Linked DNA regions of Homo sapiens: regions 1 and 3 are each linked to region 2. The links are contacts of gene promoters, found by promoter capture Hi-C in blood cells and fetal thymus (Javierre and others, 2016). All regions are on one chromosome and are shown on one strand. The core of a region is centred on a gene start or on the middle of the fragment in contact, and the rest is flanking DNA. Distances in the headings are between cores, read along the strand shown.

Region 1 (2,700 bases), core at 16-2,515, 870 kb before region 2:
GATAAGTGATTGTGCTAGGATTTCACCGTGGGGCTCCTTGGCTCCCAAGTTAAGCACGTCATGTTGTCATTTAATTTGACAACCAATGTCTATTATATCACTTTATCTCTTTGGTGACAATGGAAGTTCCATGAACACAGGGCCCCTATGGGTCTTGATTATTCAACAAAATTTTTTGTACTATTAGGGGTCTTTGAACAATTTTTGAGATAATTCTCTGCTTTTGTTGACTTCCTCCGTGATGTGTCAGGAAGTACTAATACAAGCATGCCTCAAAGAGTGAGAACACATGAACCTACCTTTCCCCTTCGGGACACAGCATTTGATAAATGCTATGAAACTCAATTCAACTCAGTCCCACCTATGTTAACAATACATGTGTATTGTATCAATAAATTATAACTTAAGTTTATCAATTTAACACAAACCTGGGTTGATTGTCTGCCTTCACGCCATGGCATATATTCTTTATCCTACTGGGATGACTTTCACATCCAGTCAGCCTTTTATATTTCCAGTTCCACATCAGCAATTTCAACCATCCTCAGATCAGAAATACTTTTTAAAAATTAAAAATAAAAATACAACAATAAAAACTTAACCAAAACCCAATACAGTATAACAACTATGCTTAGCATTTACACTGTATGAGGGATTATTAAAAATAAAAATAAAAACAGAAACAAAAAACTAGAGATGATTTAAAGTACAGTCGTCTCTTGGTACCAGTAGGAGATTGGTCCTAGGACCTCCAGAGTATTCCAAAATCCATGCATGTTCAACGTCTTGATATGAAATTGTGTCGTATCTGTATATAACCTCTGCACACCCTCCCATATATATTAAATCCTCTCTAGATTACAATAATGTATTGTTTAACAACAGGGCTATGTTCTGAGTGTTGATAAAAAGAGACAAACTCAGTAAAATGTTTGAAGAGATTTATTCTGAGCCAAATATAAGTCACCATGACCCATGATAAAGCCCTAAGTAGGTCCTGAGAACATGTGCCTAAGGTGATGGGGGTATGACTTGGTTTTACACATTTTAGGGAGGCATGAAACCACAATCAAATATATTTAAGAAATATATTGGTTTAGTCCAGATAGTCAGTACAACTCAAGCAAGGTCAGGGTGGGGTGGGAGGGGATGGGGCTTCCAGGCTATAGGTAAATTTAAGTATTTTCTGGTTGAGAATTCGTTGAGTTTGTCTAAAGACCTGGGATATTCAGGTTAAAATAAATGATTGTGGAGACCAAGGTTCTCTTGAAATCTTATTGTGGCAGCTCTTAGAAAAAATAGATGACAAATATTTTCTGTTCAGATTTCTAAAGCATGCTAGACTTTAAGTTAATCTTTTTAAGATAGGGAACATCTGGAAGATAAAGACCTAGCTATGTTAATAGAGATTCTTTACAGATGCAAATTTTCCCCCACTTAGGACAGATTTGCAGGGTAATTTCAAGAATTGACAAAGAAACATGTTTTGGGGTAAAATATTTTCACTTTCTTCTTTGTCACATAATGTTTTGCCAGAGTCATATTGGAAAGTACATCATGATATGTAGGGTTAAATAAAATGCATTTGATGAGAAGTTACAAGTTTGTAGGGCATGACTACCCAGACCCCTTTGATGAGAATTTGGGAAAGAAAATATTAGAGCTTAGTCCTTATGAGAATGTGCTATTAAATGATTTTTTTTGTTGTGTGAATATTAGTGAGTGTACTTACACAAACCTAGATGATATAGCCTGTTATATACACCTAGGCTATACATCATAGCCTCCCACTCCTGGGCTGCAAACATGAACAGCATGCTACTGCACTTACTACTGTAATCAATTGCAACACGATGGTAAATGTTGTGTATCTGAACATAGCTAGACATAGAAAAGGTACAGTAAAAATATGGCATTGTAATCTTATGAGACCACCAGCATATATGTGATCTGTTATTGACCAAAACATTGTTAGGTGGTACATAATTGTACTCATAATACCTAATACAATGTAAACACTGTGTAGTAGTTAAGTACATAGTTATGTACATAGTTACAAAAAAGGTGTTTATTGTTCATTATAGATGCTCTTGATTTCTCCAAATATCTGGATCCAATATTGGTTGAATCCACAGATGTAGAACATGGGGCTAACTGTATATAAGAGGATGTATGTAGGTTAAATGCAAATACTACTGACGGACTAAGTGGCTAAGTTGGCTGGACTTCCTGGGTCTATAGGGACTTCCCCAAGGGGCTTTTCCCTAAGCCAAAATGACTCATAGCTGCAAGCTAAGGGATTGAAACTTCAACTAATCAAAGGGGACTTTCTCCTAAGCCGAAATGAGTCACAGCTGCAAACTAAGGGATTGAAACATCAACCAATCATATTAGTAATTTAAGCTCTAGCTGCAGCCTGATGTTTTTAATCAATCAGGCCTGCCAACCCACAGATAGAAAATAAGCTAATCCTATAGGACAGAAAAAGGAAAAGGTGGGGAAGTCATAAGGGGATATAAGCATAAGACACCCAAGCCAGAAATGACAACCCTTCTGGGTCCCCTTCCACCGCGTGGAAGTTTTACTTTCACTTTGGCTTTAATAAATCTTGCCAGCACACACTCTTTGGGTTGGTGCCCTTCTCTAATTGAGCTGTAACACTCACCACTGGTCCATGACTACATTCCTTGAAGCCTTTGA
Region 2 (2,700 bases), core at 3-2,502:
GTAGCTGAGATTACAGGCATGCGCCACCATGCTCTGTTAATTTTGTATTTTTAGTAGAGACGGGGTTTTTCCATGTTGGTGACGCTGGTCTGAAACTCCCAACGTTAGGTCATCTGCCCGCCTCGGCCTCCCAAAGTGCTGGGATTACTGGCGTAAACCACAGCGCCCGACCTGTCTCTTATCTATTTCTAACATGGAAGCCCCCGCTTCGAGCTGTCCCTCTTACCTGACCGAACCAATCATGTTTCCCTAAAACGTACAAAAGCAAGCTGTGCCCTGACCACCTTGGGCAAATGTATCATGGGTAAGTCTTGCAAAATAAACTTTTTAAATTGACTAAGACCTCTCTCAGATATTTGGGGTTCAGAAATAAATTCTTTTACCTATTATTTATAATTTTGGTTACAATTGAGAAAGTAAGAAAAAAGTGGTGTTTTTTTCTTTTCTAAGGGTTACTGCATCTTGAAAGTGTGATGAAGGTCTTAATTATTGTTCTTATAATTCCTGTCCACAGAAGCTCCTACTCTTACTGAGACCTCACGGAATTATCATTATCACAATAGAAATAAACATTTTGGGTTTGTGGAGTAACTTTTTTTTTTTTTTTTTTTTTTGCTCATCGTTTGTTGTTTAGATAATATCATGAACTGATAAATGCAGTTGCCACGTTGATTCCCTAGGGCCTGGCTTACCGACTGAGGTCATAAGATATTATGCCTTCTCTTTAGACTTGGTCAGTGGAGAGGAAATGGGCAAAGAACCAGCCTATGGAGGTGACAAGGCCTTAGGGCCAAAAGTCTTGAGGGTGAAGGTTTAGGGCCTGCGCAGCTTCCCTGCCATGCCCCGCAAGGTCTCGCATTCGCAAGGCTTGTGACAGTGGGAGCCTCATTACGGACTCTCCTAAAGTCCATGGTGTCCTCTTTTCGCATTTGCGCCCCGTGGGTGATGCCCGATGCCGCCCTTCCCATCGCTCTCTTCCCCTTCAAGCGTATCGCAACTGCAAAAACACCCAGCACAGACACTCCATTTTCTATCTTAATGCATTTAACTAGCACAACCTACAGGTTGTTCCATCCCAGAGACTACCCTTTTCTCCATAGACGTGACCATCAACCAACCAGCGGTCAGAATCAGTCAGCCTCTGTCATGTTCCTAGGTCCTTGGCGAACTGGCTGGGCGGGGTCCCAGCAGCCTAGGAGTACAGTGGAGCAATGCCTGACGTAAGTCAACAAAGATCACGTGAGACGAATCAGTCGCCTAGATTGGCTACAACTAAGTGGTTGGGAGCGGGGAGGTCGCGGCGGCTGCGTGGGGTTCGCCCGTGACACAATTACAACTTTGTGCTGGTGCTGGCAAAGTTTGTGATTTTAAGAAATTCTGCTGTGCTCTCCAGCACTGCGAGCTTCTGCCTTCCCTGTAGTTTCCCAGATGTGATCCAGGTAGCCGAGTTCCGCTGCCCGTGCTTCGGTAGCTTAAGTCTTTGCCTCAGCTTTTTTCCTTGCAGCCGCTGAGGAGGCGATAAAATTGGCGTCACAGTCTCAAGCAGCGATTGAAGGCGTCTTTTCAACTACTCGATTAAGGTTGGGTATCGTCGTGGGACTTGGAAATTTGTTGTTTCCATGAAATCCTGCGCAGTGTCGCTCACTACCGCCGCTGTTGCCTTCGGTGATGAGGCAAAGAAAATGGCGGAAGGAAAAGCGAGCCGCGAGAGTGAAGAGGAGTCTGTTAGCCTGACAGTCGAGGAAAGGGAGGCGCTTGGTGGCATGGACAGGTACGCACCTCCATCACCCGCCTGGTTGGCTGGCGATACTCTCCGGGAAGGCCTGGACGCAGCTTGCCCACGTTGATGACGGGGTCATCCTCAGCTTGGCACTCACCAATCTGTCGCTGTCGCTCTTGGACTCGGGAAGGAGCAAGTCACTGGCTTTCTCAGACCATTAACAAGCTCTGTGTCTCTCTCTCTACAGCCGTCTCTTCGGGTTCGTGAGGCTTCATGAAGATGGCGCCAGAACGAAGACCCTACTAGGCAAGGTAAAAGCAACCAGACGCAAAGTCTTTGGTCCGCACTTTGCTCTACCAAGGCCCCGCGTTCCTTACCGCCCAGCCAGTATTTATTTTGGCTCTGCTCCATGGCCAAGGGGTCGGAAAAGTGTTTCTTGCCTTTGCTGTCCCCGTACTCTGGAATACTTCGCCCCTTGCTCCAGACTCCCTTCTACTCTGAGGAAAAAAAAAATCGGACGCTTTGGGACCGGGCTAAACCGGGTCTACACCACATGCCTGTTACTTTAGGGCCTTTTGTTCCTGAATTTTAGCGTCACAAATAGTGAATGTGTACAGTTTTCAAAATTCATAACTTCCTGCTTCTTCCCCTCGCCTTTTGGTATTTGGCTCTTGGTGTCTAATTTTAAACATTTTTTTGCCTTTTTAAAAAAAATATCCCTGGTGTCCTAAGTGTAAGTAGCAAGTAAGTTACAGCGGTGAAGAGTTTGCAGTAGATATTTGACCTATAAACTGATGCGTGTATGTTTAGCCTGAAGTTTAGTGATTTGTTGACTTTTTTAGGATGCACAGTGCTGCAAATGTGATTTCATGAATGTGTGTGCTTTTTCCATTCAGGAACCTTGTTTCTTAGGTGTCATGCTCACAGTGGGAAGAATTTGTTGTTTGTGTGAAAAGTTGGCACTGTCGTTTAGTTAATGG
Region 3 (2,700 bases), core at 90-2,589, 560 kb after region 2:
TAGTACCTACTGAAAACAGGTAAGACATGAAGGAGCATTGGCGTTTACCATAATCATATTAAAATAGTTTGTTGCTGCTACAAACTAGAAATTAGGTGCTATTTACACAACAGAATTCCACACAGCTATCAGAATGTTAAAAATCTAAGGAACATTGTAATTCCATCTCACGAACGTTAACACTTAGTGCAAAAAATGAGTTAAAAAAAACTGTTCATTTTCACCAAGTTTATTAGACTAAAGCTTATGTGTGCTGTTAAAAGAACAGTGCTTATCCTTTGCAGTTTGAGGTTGGTTGCCAAAAGGGGACACAAAGGGACACTGAGGTTCTTGATTTCCTTAAAAAAAACTATTTCAAACATTAACACGTTAGACCAGTTTGCCTATCGTGTTTGTTAAGCGGCACTAACTGCTGCAATGTGTTAAAGGGATTGTCAGCCACCAGAAAAAAGAAGTTGGACAAAACGTGCTTATGCGATTCTCAGCTATCATTAACCTACTCCAATTAATTCTTGACCTTAAGTAACTACTTACAATCAAAAAGTAATTTGTTAGGCAACTGACTTTTTACCCAATTCATTTAGTTCAGCCATCTTTCACATCAAAAATGCTTAAAATAGCAATCACACTCATATTAAGTTGCTTAGACCAAAATGCAATATATGCTGCATGTATAGACCTTTTAGATTCACATCAGTCAGAACACAAATCCTGCCTCACAACTCCAACCTTCTACCACCTTCGTCATTAAGGCAAAGAAGTACTTCTAGCCTCAGGACGGTATTTCACAAACAGCTTTGGTAGGTAGCCAAGAAATCAGATTTCCAATCTTCAGGTTAAGAGCACAAGTTCATCTTCAACTCAACATTAAGCTACAAGTGACAGCAGGAAGACTTTTGAACTTTTTATTTTAGTAAAATCAGAATAAACAGAGCACATGCAGTGCCAGCATCTAAAACTAATACAATAAGCAATTACTGAACTTTTACAGTGACTCGAGGTTCAATGATTACATTCAGCAATTCCATTCTTTATTTACTGAAGAATACTGCTGGCTGATAAAACCGAATGTTAAGTCACTGACAGAAATAACCATGTTTGAGGACTGTAAATATACCAGACAATCACTGAAAATCAAACACAACAAAACACATAACAAAACTCAAGAGAAACTTTGTGGATGTGGACACTTCCTATCAGTGTTCAGAAGTGTTTCATTAATATCTTAAGACAAGTATATCAAAACCTTGGCATGTTTTAGTTTCAAGTTGACAATTTTGTCTTAAATTTTGTCAGAAAATTACAGCTACATTGCCAATGCCGGGTCTGCTTAATTTGACTCAAGTTTAACAGACTTAACATTAAAAGCTCACACTACCCCAAAATATATTATTTCACATACGGTGACATTCAACATTCAAGTGCCAGTGTTTTTTGTACTGTCTTTTGGTCAAGTTTCTTTAAACTTTCAAAGAATCATTTTTAGGCTTACAAAAATAAATATTTGTCAAAATGTTCAATAAATATTACACAACTAGCAGCAAAAAGTATCTAAAATCTGTTGTGTGCAAATAGTTTTCTTCTCAACTACCATTCCATGGTCCCCAATAAAATTTAGGAATCTACTTCTTCACTGGCTGCATTCAACAATCTCCAAGAGACGAAATAAGATTGGAAGGTCGAGGACACCCACACAAGACATATATATATAAAATTCTCTGAATGTGCAACAAAATACTTTGTAAAAAGTTATGGGAGAAATGTACAAGAGTCTAAACCTACACTAATTGAAATAGCACCTTAACAAATGACCTCAATACTGTCAAGTGCACCTACTTAAAAGTTTTAGAACAAGGCACAATACACTTGAAAATCTATTGCACTTTAAGAAATTTTTGTCAACTTCTTATGCCATTGAAAAGATTTGTTTTTAAAGATCATTGCATCTGGCCACAAAATCAGTACAGAATTCCAAGTGGGAGAGGCATTTTTAGTGGTGGACAATCATCTTTGGCCAAATTTAGCACAAGAGACTATAAATACCATGGAAACCTATGCAACTAAAATACGCTAAAACTGCACATATAGAACACACACCTTGTGCAGTTTAGTACGTATTTGCAAGCTGTGTGATTTCAAGGATTTGTTAGTCTTAAGATTTGCAAAGTCTGCAAGTGTAAGCCATTTTAACATTTCAATGCAGCTTTAACAGAGCAGTATGAATCTACATTAAATTAAAGCCTGCTGCACAATCCTTCCTGTTTAAACCGTTCTTGACCAAAAAACATCAACACTAGCATGCATTAAAGACCAGAATCCAACCAGGCCTGTAGTGAGGCCTGGTCACTGCCATGGTCGGCCATTCTAATATTTCAAATTTTTATAGCAGGCATTAAAAAAACTGATTAAATCTCCCCCATTTTATCAAAGCTTTAAACCTTTCTTGTGATAGCATGCCGTTTGCCTAGGTTAGAATAAACTCCCTAAACATTACATGAGAAATTGCTGTACTTAAATTAACCTAAAAGAGCTCTTTCAAAAATATTAATTGGTATACTGATACATTCCACCTCATCATGACTGGAATGGCTTAAAGAGTGTAAGTTCCCAAGTGCCTATCCAGGATAGAGTGAGCAAGTCAGAACTTAATTTAGTAAGGTTGGCCATACAAAAAACTATGCTTTAATGCTTTAAGATGTT

What was found. The method cuts DNA at HindIII sites, captures the fragments that hold promoters and counts their contacts. A CHiCAGO score of 5 or more calls a contact.
Region 1: a fragment that was not itself captured here is called in contact with the fragment with the promoter of UTY in region 2 in 2 of 17 cell types (M1 macrophages and activated CD4 T cells); the score reaches 9.5 in M1 macrophages.
Region 3: a contact is called between a fragment that was not itself captured here and the fragment with the promoter of UTY in region 2, in 5 of 17 cell types (monocytes, naive B cells, total B cells and 2 more). The highest score is 11.6, in monocytes.

The regions. Positions count from the first base shown.
Region 1 is chrY:14,344,757-14,347,456 of GRCh38, reverse strand. No RefSeq gene overlaps it. Among named protein-coding and RNA genes, the nearest start is that of NLGN4Y, 180 kb to the left of the region's middle. The HindIII fragment of the contact is 6,886 bases long and covers 1-2,700 here.
Region 2 is chrY:13,478,585-13,481,284 of GRCh38, reverse strand. It overlaps UTY (ubiquitously transcribed tetratricopeptide repeat containing, Y-linked), which reads left to right and starts at 1,252. Exons shown (of 30, transcript NM_001258249.2): 1 at 1,252-1,771; 2 at 1,968-2,031. The coding sequence starts at 1,620. MIR12120 (microRNA 12120) reads right to left here and starts at 2,108; the gene lies at 2,019-2,108. The HindIII fragment of the contact is 7,265 bases long and covers 1-2,700 here.
Region 3 is chrY:12,918,670-12,921,369 of GRCh38, reverse strand. DDX3Y (DEAD-box helicase 3 Y-linked) reads right to left here. Exons shown (of 17, transcript NM_004660.5): 17 at 892-2,700. Among named protein-coding and RNA genes, the nearest start is that of DDX3Y, 15 kb to the right of the region's middle. The HindIII fragment of the contact is 2,187 bases long and covers 246-2,432 here.